Regions from separate parts of the Homo sapiens genome. Here region 1 is linked to region 2. The links are contacts of gene promoters, found by promoter capture Hi-C in human tissues and cell types (Jung and others, 2019). All regions are on one chromosome and are shown on one strand. The core of a region is centred on a gene start or on the middle of the fragment in contact, and the rest is flanking DNA. Distances in the headings are between cores, read along the strand shown. Region 1 has its middle 18 kb from the start of MIR8070. Region 2 holds the start of EIF4G2 (eukaryotic translation initiation factor 4 gamma 2).

Region 1 (4,819 bases), core at 362-2,861, 960 kb before region 2:
CTTGACTGTTCTCTATGTATTCTTGTGTTTTTGTTTTTGACTGTTTGATTCCATCTACGTAAACAACTTTTTAAAATTGACAAATAAAAAGTATGTATGTTTGTGGTATACAACATGCTATTTCGATATAGGTATCTATTATGAAATGACTAAATCAAGCTAATTACCATATCCATCACCTGACATCCTTATCATTTGTGTAATGAGAATTTTTTTCTTTTTTTTTTTTTTTTGAGACGGAGTCTCGCTCTGTTGCCCAGGCTGGAGTGCGGTGGCGCGATCTCGGCTCACTGCAAGCTTCGCCTCCCAGGTTCATGCCATTCTCCTGCCTCAGCCTCCCAAGTAGCTGGGACTACAGGCGCCCGCCACTACGCCCAGCTAATTTTTTTGTATTTTTTTTTAGTAGAGACGGGGTTTCACCGTGTTAGCCAGGATGGTCTCAATCTCCTGATCTCGTGATCCGCCCATCCCGGCCTCCCAAAGTGCTGGGATTACAGGCGTGAGCCACCGCGCCCAGCCTGTAATGAGAATATTTAAAATCTACTCTCCTAGCAATTTTCAAGTAACAATAATTAACTATAGTCACCATGCTGTACAACAGATCTCTAAAACTTATTCCTCCTATTTAACTGAAACTTGTACTTTTTGACCAGCATCTCCCCAAACCCCCACCCTCCAGTCAGTGGTAATTATCATCCTACTCTCTGCTTCTCTGAATTTGACTTTTTTAGATTTCACATATAAGTGAGATCATGTGGTATTTGTATTTCTGTGCCTGGCTTATTTTACTTAACATCATGTCCTCTAGGTTAATCCATATTGCCATAAATGACAGAATTTCCTTCTTTTTTAAGGCTGAGTAGTGTTCCATTGTGTATACATACCACATTTTCTTGATCCATTCATCCATTTGTGGACATGTAGGTTGATTCCATGTTTTAGCTATTGTGAATAATACCACAGTGAAAGTGGATATACAGTTATCTCTTCAACATACTGATTTCTCTTCCTTTGGGTATATACCCAGAAGTGGGATTGCTGAATCACTTGGTAGTTCTATTTTTAGTTTTTTAGGGATCTTACTTTTTTCCATACTGGCTGTACTAATTTACATTCCCATCAATAGTACACAAGGGTTTCCTTTTCTCCATATCCTTGCCAATGTTTGTTATCTTTTCTCTTTTTGGTAAAAGCCATTCTTACTGGTATGAGGTGATATCCCATTGTGGTATTAATGGTCAGTAATGTTGTACTGATGGTCAGTAATGTTGAGCACCATTTCATATACCTGTTGGCCTTTTGTATATCATCTTTTGATAAATGTCTATTCAGGTCTTTCGCCTGTTTTAAAATCAGGCAGTCAGGCATGGAGGCTCACACCTGTAATCCCAGCACTTTGGGAGGCCAAGGCAGAATTGATAGCTTGAGCCCAGGGGTAAGAGACCTGCCTGGGCAACATAGTGAGACTCTGTCTCTACAAAAAATAAAAAATAAAAATTTAGCTGGGCTTGGCGGCTTACTCTTGTAGTCCCAGCTACTTGGGAGGCTGAAACAAGAGGATTGCTTGAGCTTGGAGGTTGAGGCTGCAGTGTGCTGTGATCACACCACAGCACTCCAGCCTGGGTGACAGAGTAAGACCCTGTCCCAAAATAAATGTGTAAATAAATACATAAAATTAGGTTATTTGTTTTATAGCTGTTGAGTTGTACGAGTTCCTTATATATGTTTTGGATTTAGCTTCTTATGAGACATATGGTTTGCAAACTTTTTTTTTCTATTCCGTAGGTTTTCTCTTCACTTGTTGATTTTTTTTCAAGGCAATCCCATTGCCCATTTTTGCTTTTTCTGTTTGTACTTTGGGAGTGATACCCAAAAAATCTTTGCCAAGACCAATGTGAAGATTTCTCCCCCTATATTTTCTTCTAGTAGTTTACAGTTTTAAGTCTTACATTTAAGTTGTTAATCTATGTGTATGCAGTCCTAACCATCAGCTCATGCAGTGGACTTCAGGTGACTTAGCAACAATAGCAGCAATGACAAGAGTAAAATAGTTAACACTGATGAAGCACCCTCTATGTACCAGGTGTTGGGAAAAGTACTTTTTTTTTTTTTTTTTTTGAGACGGAGTCTCACTCTCGCCCAGGCTGGAGTGCAGTGGTGCAATCCTGGCTCACTGCAAACTCCACCTCCTGGGTTCATGCCATTCTCCTGCCTCAGCCTCTCAAGTAGCTGGGACTACAGGTGCCCACCACCACACCTGGCTAGTTTTTTGTATTTTTAGTAGAGATGGGGTTTCACCATTTTAGCCAGGATGGTCTCGATCTCCTGACCTCGTGATCCGCCCGCCTTGGACTCCCAAAGTGCTGGGATTACAGGCATGAGCCATTGTGCCCAGCCAGGAAAAGTACTTTTTATACTTTATCCCACTGAATCCTCACAATGACAATGTCAAGTAGATATTATTACTCACACTGTACAAAAGAAGAAATGGAGGCACAGAGGTATAAAACAATTAACCCTGTTGCACTGCTGGTAAGACAGCAAAGCTGGGATTCAAACTCAAGTCTATTTGAGCCTGAGTCTCAACCACTGCTACCCTACACTATTTTCTCTAAAAGTTGTCACTGTTTGGAGAAGAATATTTTTTTTAAAAAGTTTACTTTTTCTGTTTGGGGAATTTATATGAATTATTAAAAAATTGAAAACTCAAGTAACATAGAAAGTAGAGAAAAATTATCACCAATAGTCTTACTTTTCAGACAATCTGTGGTTAATATTCAGTTACATTTCTATGAAGCATTTTCCTCATACAGAGTTTTCGTAGGATTGTGATAATTCTCTAGGGAAGACCTCGCAGACTGCACTTCTCCATTTTAGAAACATGATAAATGTCACTTATAACTGCTACATATTATCATAGCTAATGAATGCAACATGATCTTCTTGACTCTTCCTCTCTTGATGGACATTTAGAATCTTTTCTTTCTTGCTTTTTTTCAGTATTTCAGATCTTTTTTTAAAAGAAAGATACTCTTGGCTTTCTAGAGTTAAATGAGGATATCCAGGAAGGGGACAAGGAGAGAAAAAGGAGATTATCTTCGTGGTACTGCCTTTTTCCACAAGAAATAATCCCATGAGGAGTGGGGGCAGGCTTAGGGACTTTGCCCTGCCATCACCATGCATGGAAACATCACTCCCACATCTTGACAGGCTGCTCTTCACCACCACCGCTTTCTCTTACTCCTCCCCAGGCTCTGAGTGTGAAGCTTAGAGAGGGAGAATATGAGGATCTATGGGAAAAGATCCTCCTCCTCTTCTTTCCTAGGGATGAGAGGTCCTCATCTCCAAAGGGCTCATGGCCATTTCAGGAGTATCGCATTTTCCTGGGCTTGCAGGAAAACAGACCAGCTAGTCATCTCTCCTGGGCAGTGACTATACCCCGTGGAGGCAGGTGCTTGTTGGGTTCTCTCACATTTGGAGAAGCAGTGAGGATTGGCAGCTGGATCATCACAGACTGAACCCACAGCTCCTCCTCACCTGCCTTTCAAGCAAGGAGGGTGAATTCCTCCTCTCCTGGTAGCAAGTCATTTATGTTCCAGCTGTGAAAATTTGATCAAAAAAGGATGAACTTATTTCAGTGGATTAGAGTTCATTGCATATATAGTCCATCATCTGGAAATTTTTACACTAATTAAAAATAAAAACAGATTTTCTATTATGTGTTTTTTTTCCTAGAAAAGATTTAGCCAAGCTTCAAGGGCCAAACCATCTGAATTAACTCTGATTCCCAACTCCAGATTTGAGATCTTTGAGTTTCGAAAATATCTCAGGGGGTATCATGACATCTACAGCATTTGCAAAAAAAAAAAAAGAAAGAAAGTGTAATTAATTAAAAAAACATAATCACCTTGACCATTACACATTATATACATGTATCAAAATATCACATGTACCCCCAAACATGTACAACTATATCAATAAAATACAAAAAATGAAAAAACACAAGAATTTTGAAAGTATTTAAACAAAATCATAGCTAGCTGGGCGTGGTGGTTCACACCTGTAATCCTGGTACTTTGGGAGGCTGAGGTGGGAAGACTGCTTGAGCCCAGGAGTTCAAGACCAGCCTGGGCAACATAGCGAGACCCTATCTCAAGTATTTAAAAAAACAAATCAAAACATCATCACCTATAATACTTATGTTTAGAAAAGCAGGAGGTAGCTTAGGGGAGAGCTTGATGGGGTGGCAGGAGCACCGAAGTGGGATAGTGAAGGCCAGAGTTAAATAAAGTGTCTTCTGGTTACCACCCATGTCATTTCTGGAAGCCAGCCTCTCTGAGCCTCAGTTTTTCATCTGAATATGGCAGGGCAGGAGCTAAAATTCAAGCACATACTTCTGTTCGAGACAGCTCCTGCCAGGGCCACAGGGAGCCTGCAAGGAGACCCCGAGATGACATTTGCTATGTGGGGTGGGATATTCTCCCAGTGTCTCCTGACATGCCAATTACCCAGTAGAGCCCAGGACCTGCTCAATGTTACCCTGTTGACTTGCCCTAATATATAGAACAAAGAGTCAGTATGAGGCAGATCTTTTAAAGGGGCATTCACTAAACCTGCCCCATGGAAAAGAGGAGTGTTCTAAGGCAAACTTGTTCCCAGATTCAGTCCTGGAAATCCCCGTGCTTCTGGCCCACCTCCCCACTATGACCTGTCCTGCATGCTTGTGTGTCTCCTCTGTCCTTTCTCAGGAATGAGAATCTGATCACACACTGGCCCCATTCTGCTCCTTCCATTTGGCACCTGATTTTGGTTTTGGACT
Region 2 (5,039 bases), core at 2,220-4,719:
TATGGCTTCAAGTTTGCATCTCTGAGCAAAAGGCTGTTGGAAATTCAGAACTGGATGTAAAGTGAGAGATCTGGGCTGAAGGTAAATGATTAGGGAATTCATAAGCACAGAGAGGATGGTAGATGCTTCCAAAACAGTATGTGTTAGAATAGTAACCAGCACTTGACATGATTAGTTAAAATAAGGCAAAAATATATGAGTTAACAAGTTAGTCAGGACTTAGAGAAAACTGATAAAACTAGCAGTGGAAAACTAGCAGACTTAAGTGGGTATATTTAAAATTCAATTTTCAATGAACTAAAAGCTAAATTCCAGACAATGACTCTGTGTGTGTGTGTGTGTTTAAGATAGGATTTCGCTCTGTTACCCAGGCTGGAGTGCAGTGACATGATCATGGCTCACTTCAGCCTCGACCTCCAGGGCTCAAGCCATCCTACTGCCTCAGCCTCCCAAGTAGCTGGTACTACAGGCATGTGGGACACAGGCTAATTTTTGTATTTTTTGTAGAGACAGGTTTTCACCACGTTGCCCAGGCTAGTCTCAAACTCCTGAGCTCAAGCTACCCACCTGCTTCAGTCTCCAAAAGAGCTGGGATTGCAGGCATCAGCCACCATGCCTAGCATTTTATTTTTTTTGAGACAGGATCTCACTCTACTGCCCTGGCTGGAGTGCAGTGGCGTGACCATGGCTTAGTGCAGCCTCAAAGTCCTGGGCTTAAGGGATTCGCCCATGTCAGCCTCCCAAGTAGCTGGGACTACAGATGCATGTCACCACATCTGGATTAATTTTTAATTTTAGAGATGGGGGGGTCTCCCTATGTTGCCCAGATTGGTCTCCAACTCCTGGGCTCAAAGAATCCTCCCAGCTTGGCCTCCAAAAGTGCTGCTGAATTTTCATATATCCATGACGTGATGGAAACATTTAGAAAGTTTCAATGTTTATTTCCCTCACTTAAATATATTTCGATTTGAAAAAAAACTATTGTCTAGACTTCAAAGAGTATATTCATCTAGCCCTAAAAGCTAGATGTTCTTATAATTAAGACACTTAAAATTCAATAATTAAAAATTTTTTACACTGGGCACAGTGGCTCACACCTGTAATCCCAGTATTTTGGGAGGCCCAGACGGGTGGATCACTTGAGGTCAGGAGTTTGAGACCAGTCTGGGCAACATGGTGAAACCCCATCTCAAGTAGAAATACAAAAATTAGCTGGGCGTGGTGGCACATGCTTGTAATCCCAGCTACTCAGGAGGCTGAGGCACGAGAACTGCTTGAACCCAGGAGGTGGAGGCTGCAGTGTGCAGAGATCACACCACTACACTCCAGCCTGAGTGACAAAGTGAGACTCTGTCTCAAAAAAAAATTTTTTTTTCTAAAGGTTTTACTTAATGTTTTTATTTAATCTTTGCTAATTGTGAACCCTTCTGCAATGGGCTTTGCAGGTACGATTTCAACTTCAAATCTTTCTATTTAAGTGAGAGAAAGGTAATTGAAAGATTGTTTTATCAATATTTTTACTTTTTCTACCTTAGGTTATTCCCTTCCAGGTCAATTTCTCACATAAACTCATATCTGCAAAGCCCATACCAAAAGGGTTCCCAATTAGCAAAGATTAAATAAAATATTAAGTAAAACCTTTTTTAAATTTTTAATTACTGAATTTTAAGTGTCTTAATTATAAGAACATCCGACTTTTACGGCTAGGTGAATATTCTCTTTGAAGTCTAGACAATAGTTTTTGAATACTACTCTTCTTAGTAAACTAATGTATTCGTTCATTATCAGATAAATGGAATGTAAACCAGTTATGTAAAAATATCACATATACTAATGCATTTTTCCAAACCTTAAAGCCCTACAGAAATTATAAAGAAACATTATTCTCGTGTTATCATGAAGCTAGAAGGGTCCAAAGAAATACAAAGTGAAACCTCTTGTATTTAAAACAAAACTTGCACCACCACCACCACCCCAAAATAGTTTTTTTTTTTTTTTAGAATATCTCTTCCAAGTTTTAAAGTTCAAGTAAAATTGATGTAATAGCAATAAGTGTAGTAACAGTAAAGTAGGGAATGGTGACTATTCTATAGCAAAGATCTACAGATGTTGGAATTGTGTTAAAAACCTTCAGAGCCACACCACAGCCTTCTATTACATTTAAATGTCGTAGGAAAAACTGCAATTTTCCGGAAAATTGTATTAAGGACCAGGTGCTCTAATACCAAGAGCTGTTTTGACACATCAAAGGTTAAGTTTGGGTCTTTGAAAATCCTGCCTCTTACTGAACACTTTAAAAGTCATTCATGTTAAAACACACACATTCTTGCCTTTGACTATACACTGTAAAAGTACTACATGTTAAAATGGAGATGGGGACATTTTTGTTGTTTAAGTTTATGGAAGTATGACTCCATTTTAGTATAGCTACAATGTCGCAAACGATGGAATAAGGTACTCATCAATACATTACCTGGTAAGTATAAATAGTTCAACTTGCCGGCTTTGAAAAGCTTAATCCTATTTCTTATGGTGAACCTTAAATAAAATGAAAATACACAACTGACAATGTTTAACGTGCACTTAAACAAACAAAAAACAAAAAAAAACAGGAGCTAGCAATTCGAAATCCTCCAAACACCCGCGGAAGTCTGACACACAGGGTGTTTTCCTCGGTGACCGCCAGCCGGACATTCCTATGGGAAAAGCAGCTTCTTCTGTGCGGTTCGAAGAAAATCAACCCCTTCCTTTCATCACTTTCTCATTCACTCTGCAGGGGGTGGGCCAATAAGGAGCTGAATGAAGCTCCCCTTTGGCATCCGGGCGCACGTCTCGCCTCCTCCCCACTACTTTCTGGGTTCCCTAAGGCTGCCGAAGCCGAGGACCTGGAGCCGGGTAGTGTCCCGGCGCTGCGCCCGGGGGCTCCAGGCCTCAACCCGAAGGGCTCAGCCCCGGGAGAGGCCAGGCACGCGAGGGCAGCCACAGCTCCAAGGGGCGCCAAGAAAAGCAATGCTCACTCGCCACGCACAGGGTTCGGGGGAGGTAAGGGTGCGTTTTCTTCCCATATTCCCGGTGAGAAAACGAGGTCGAGGGAAAAGGGGATGATACAACTGGAGCATGGCATATGGACTCAGTGAACAAAGGGACTGGAGCAAGAAGCAGCAGCCACGCCAACGCAGACTCAAAAGGGCTCTCCGGCTTTACGCACGCAACCCTCATCTCGACAGCGCTCGGCGCCCCTTACGCCACTGGCTCAGCCTCAGAGACTTCGCGAATATGGCTTTGCGCACTGCGGCGGGGCTGCGCCGCAACCGAGCTCAGCCCTGTGGCTCCTCCTCGCTGCCCTGCGCGGATTGGTGGCAGACGGCAACCGGGCCGCTGATTGGGCGGCGAAGGAGCCATTCGGGGAGACTCTGGTGGGTTCGGCTGCCCCAAGAGTGATAAGTTCGGCTTCAGACACGCCTTAGCGCCAGCAGTGAGTCGGAGCTCTATGGAGGTGGCAGCGGGTACCGAGTGGCGGCTGCAGCAGCGACTCCTCTGAGCTGAGTTTGAGGCCGTCCCCGACTCCTTCCTCCCCCTTCCCTCCCCCTTTTTTTTGTTTTCCGTTCCCCTTTCCCCTCCCTTCCCTATCCCCGACGACCGGATCCTGAGGAGGCAGCTGCGGTGGCAGCTGCTGAGTTCTCGGTGAAGGTGAGTTGAGCCGCTGCCGCCGCCGAGTGGAGCGCTCTAAAATGGCCGCCGTCCCTGGTCGCTTCTTCTCGAGTGGTACAAAATGGCGGCCGCAGGCGGAGCCGGGTGGGGCGACCCTTTTTTAGCATTTCCTCTGCGCTTCAGATACCTGGAAAGTCTTGGCTTTTGTTCTCTCTTCCTGTTGCTGACGGAGTAGAAGGAAAACGTCAGTGTTGGCCAGGCCGCCGTGCGGTCATGGCCGGATGGCCGACGCCTGCAGGGACGAGGCCGTGGCGGACCGAGGCACGGCTGTGCTCGGACGGCGAGGGAGCGTGGCTCGGACCGCTAGCGCCGTGGCGGGAGGCACGCGGGCCGGCAGGGAAGGCCAGGCCGTTGGCGCGGGACCAGGGAACCGCAGGCGTCCCGGAGCCTGGCCTCCCGGCGGGGAGGTGTGTAGGACCTGGAGTCGGCAGGGGCTGCCCTTCGTCGGGGAGGAAAGAGAGAGTGATGATTTCTGCCCCTTTTGTCAGCAGAGGAGGCCGTGGCGAGGCGGTTGTCAGTCCCGGGGGGATTTATGGTGCAGGAGGGGGCCCGCTTGGAGGCGGCGGGTGGGCAGGAGGCCGCCTTCCTGCTTGGAGAACAAAGAGCTGGGCGCCGGGCTGGCGGGGGTGGCCTCAGCTGCTCCTCCCCGTCGAGCGACCCGGGCCTCGCGGGGAGGTTGTCGGAAGCACTTCCCTAACTTGCGCCTGGGTGGGAGGAATGCTCCGCTCTTTTGTTCCCAGGAAGGGAAAAACGGGGCGGAGGTTCCTGCTGCCATGTTGTGGCCCTGGTCTTCCGCCTGCAAGTGCTAGTCCTGTACACCCGGCCCCCTCTCGCGCGTCTTTCCACGAGCTCTCCACGGGGAGGAGGCGAAAGGGTGGACAGGGGAAAACTGCTGAAGAGCTTTCGGAGAGACCTCATCTAGTCGCTGGCCTCGTCAAGGCAGTAAAAATTCCTAGGGCAGACATTTTCCACGTGATGTTGCTCGTGTCTGTAGTTAGACTTTTCTATTGATCTCAGTGCTCAGTTTTAAAGATAGTAGAATGTGGCTTTTTCAAAAGATTCGTTCTGAGCCGTTTAAAATGCTCTTGTGTTCTACGAAGTCTCTTTGCATCCTTGAACACCGGGGAATTTCCAGGTGGCTAAACAAAATGTAATTGTCAGTGTTTTGAGTACATTTTAGGTTAGTCTTACAGATCTGCAATGCAGTGACAGTGCCAGGATCTGAAATACGTTGTAATTGAATGAAGGCTTATAGATCTGTATGTTAGCAGTGTCTAATTTTGGTGCTCTTTCTCGTTCCAGGTATTTCATTTCTCCTGTCCCCTCCC

Evidence for each region. Contacts are between HindIII fragments. The study calls those that stand out against the background at their distance.
Region 1: a contact is called between a fragment that was not itself captured here and the fragment with the promoter of EIF4G2 in region 2, in 1 of the 25 tissues and cell types used here (dorsolateral prefrontal cortex).

Annotation. Positions count from the first base shown.
Region 1 is chr11:11,762,663-11,767,481 of GRCh38, reverse strand. No RefSeq gene overlaps it. Among named protein-coding and RNA genes, the nearest start is that of MIR8070, 18 kb to the left of the region's middle. The HindIII fragment of the contact is 3,796 bases long and covers 1-3,509 here.
Region 2 is chr11:10,807,356-10,812,394 of GRCh38, reverse strand. EIF4G2 (eukaryotic translation initiation factor 4 gamma 2) reads left to right here and starts at 3,469. Exons shown (of 22, transcript NM_001418.4): 1 at 3,469-3,690; 2 at 5,014-5,039. It overlaps LOC101928053 (a long non-coding RNA gene), which reads right to left and starts at 3,098. Exons shown (of 3, transcript NR_120540.1): 1 at 3,029-3,098; 2 at 2,474-2,538. RefSeq lists enhancers at 2,385-2,991, 3,067-3,116, 3,627-3,886, 4,617-4,696 and a silencer at 3,297-3,346. The HindIII fragment of the contact is 7,870 bases long and covers 53-5,039 here.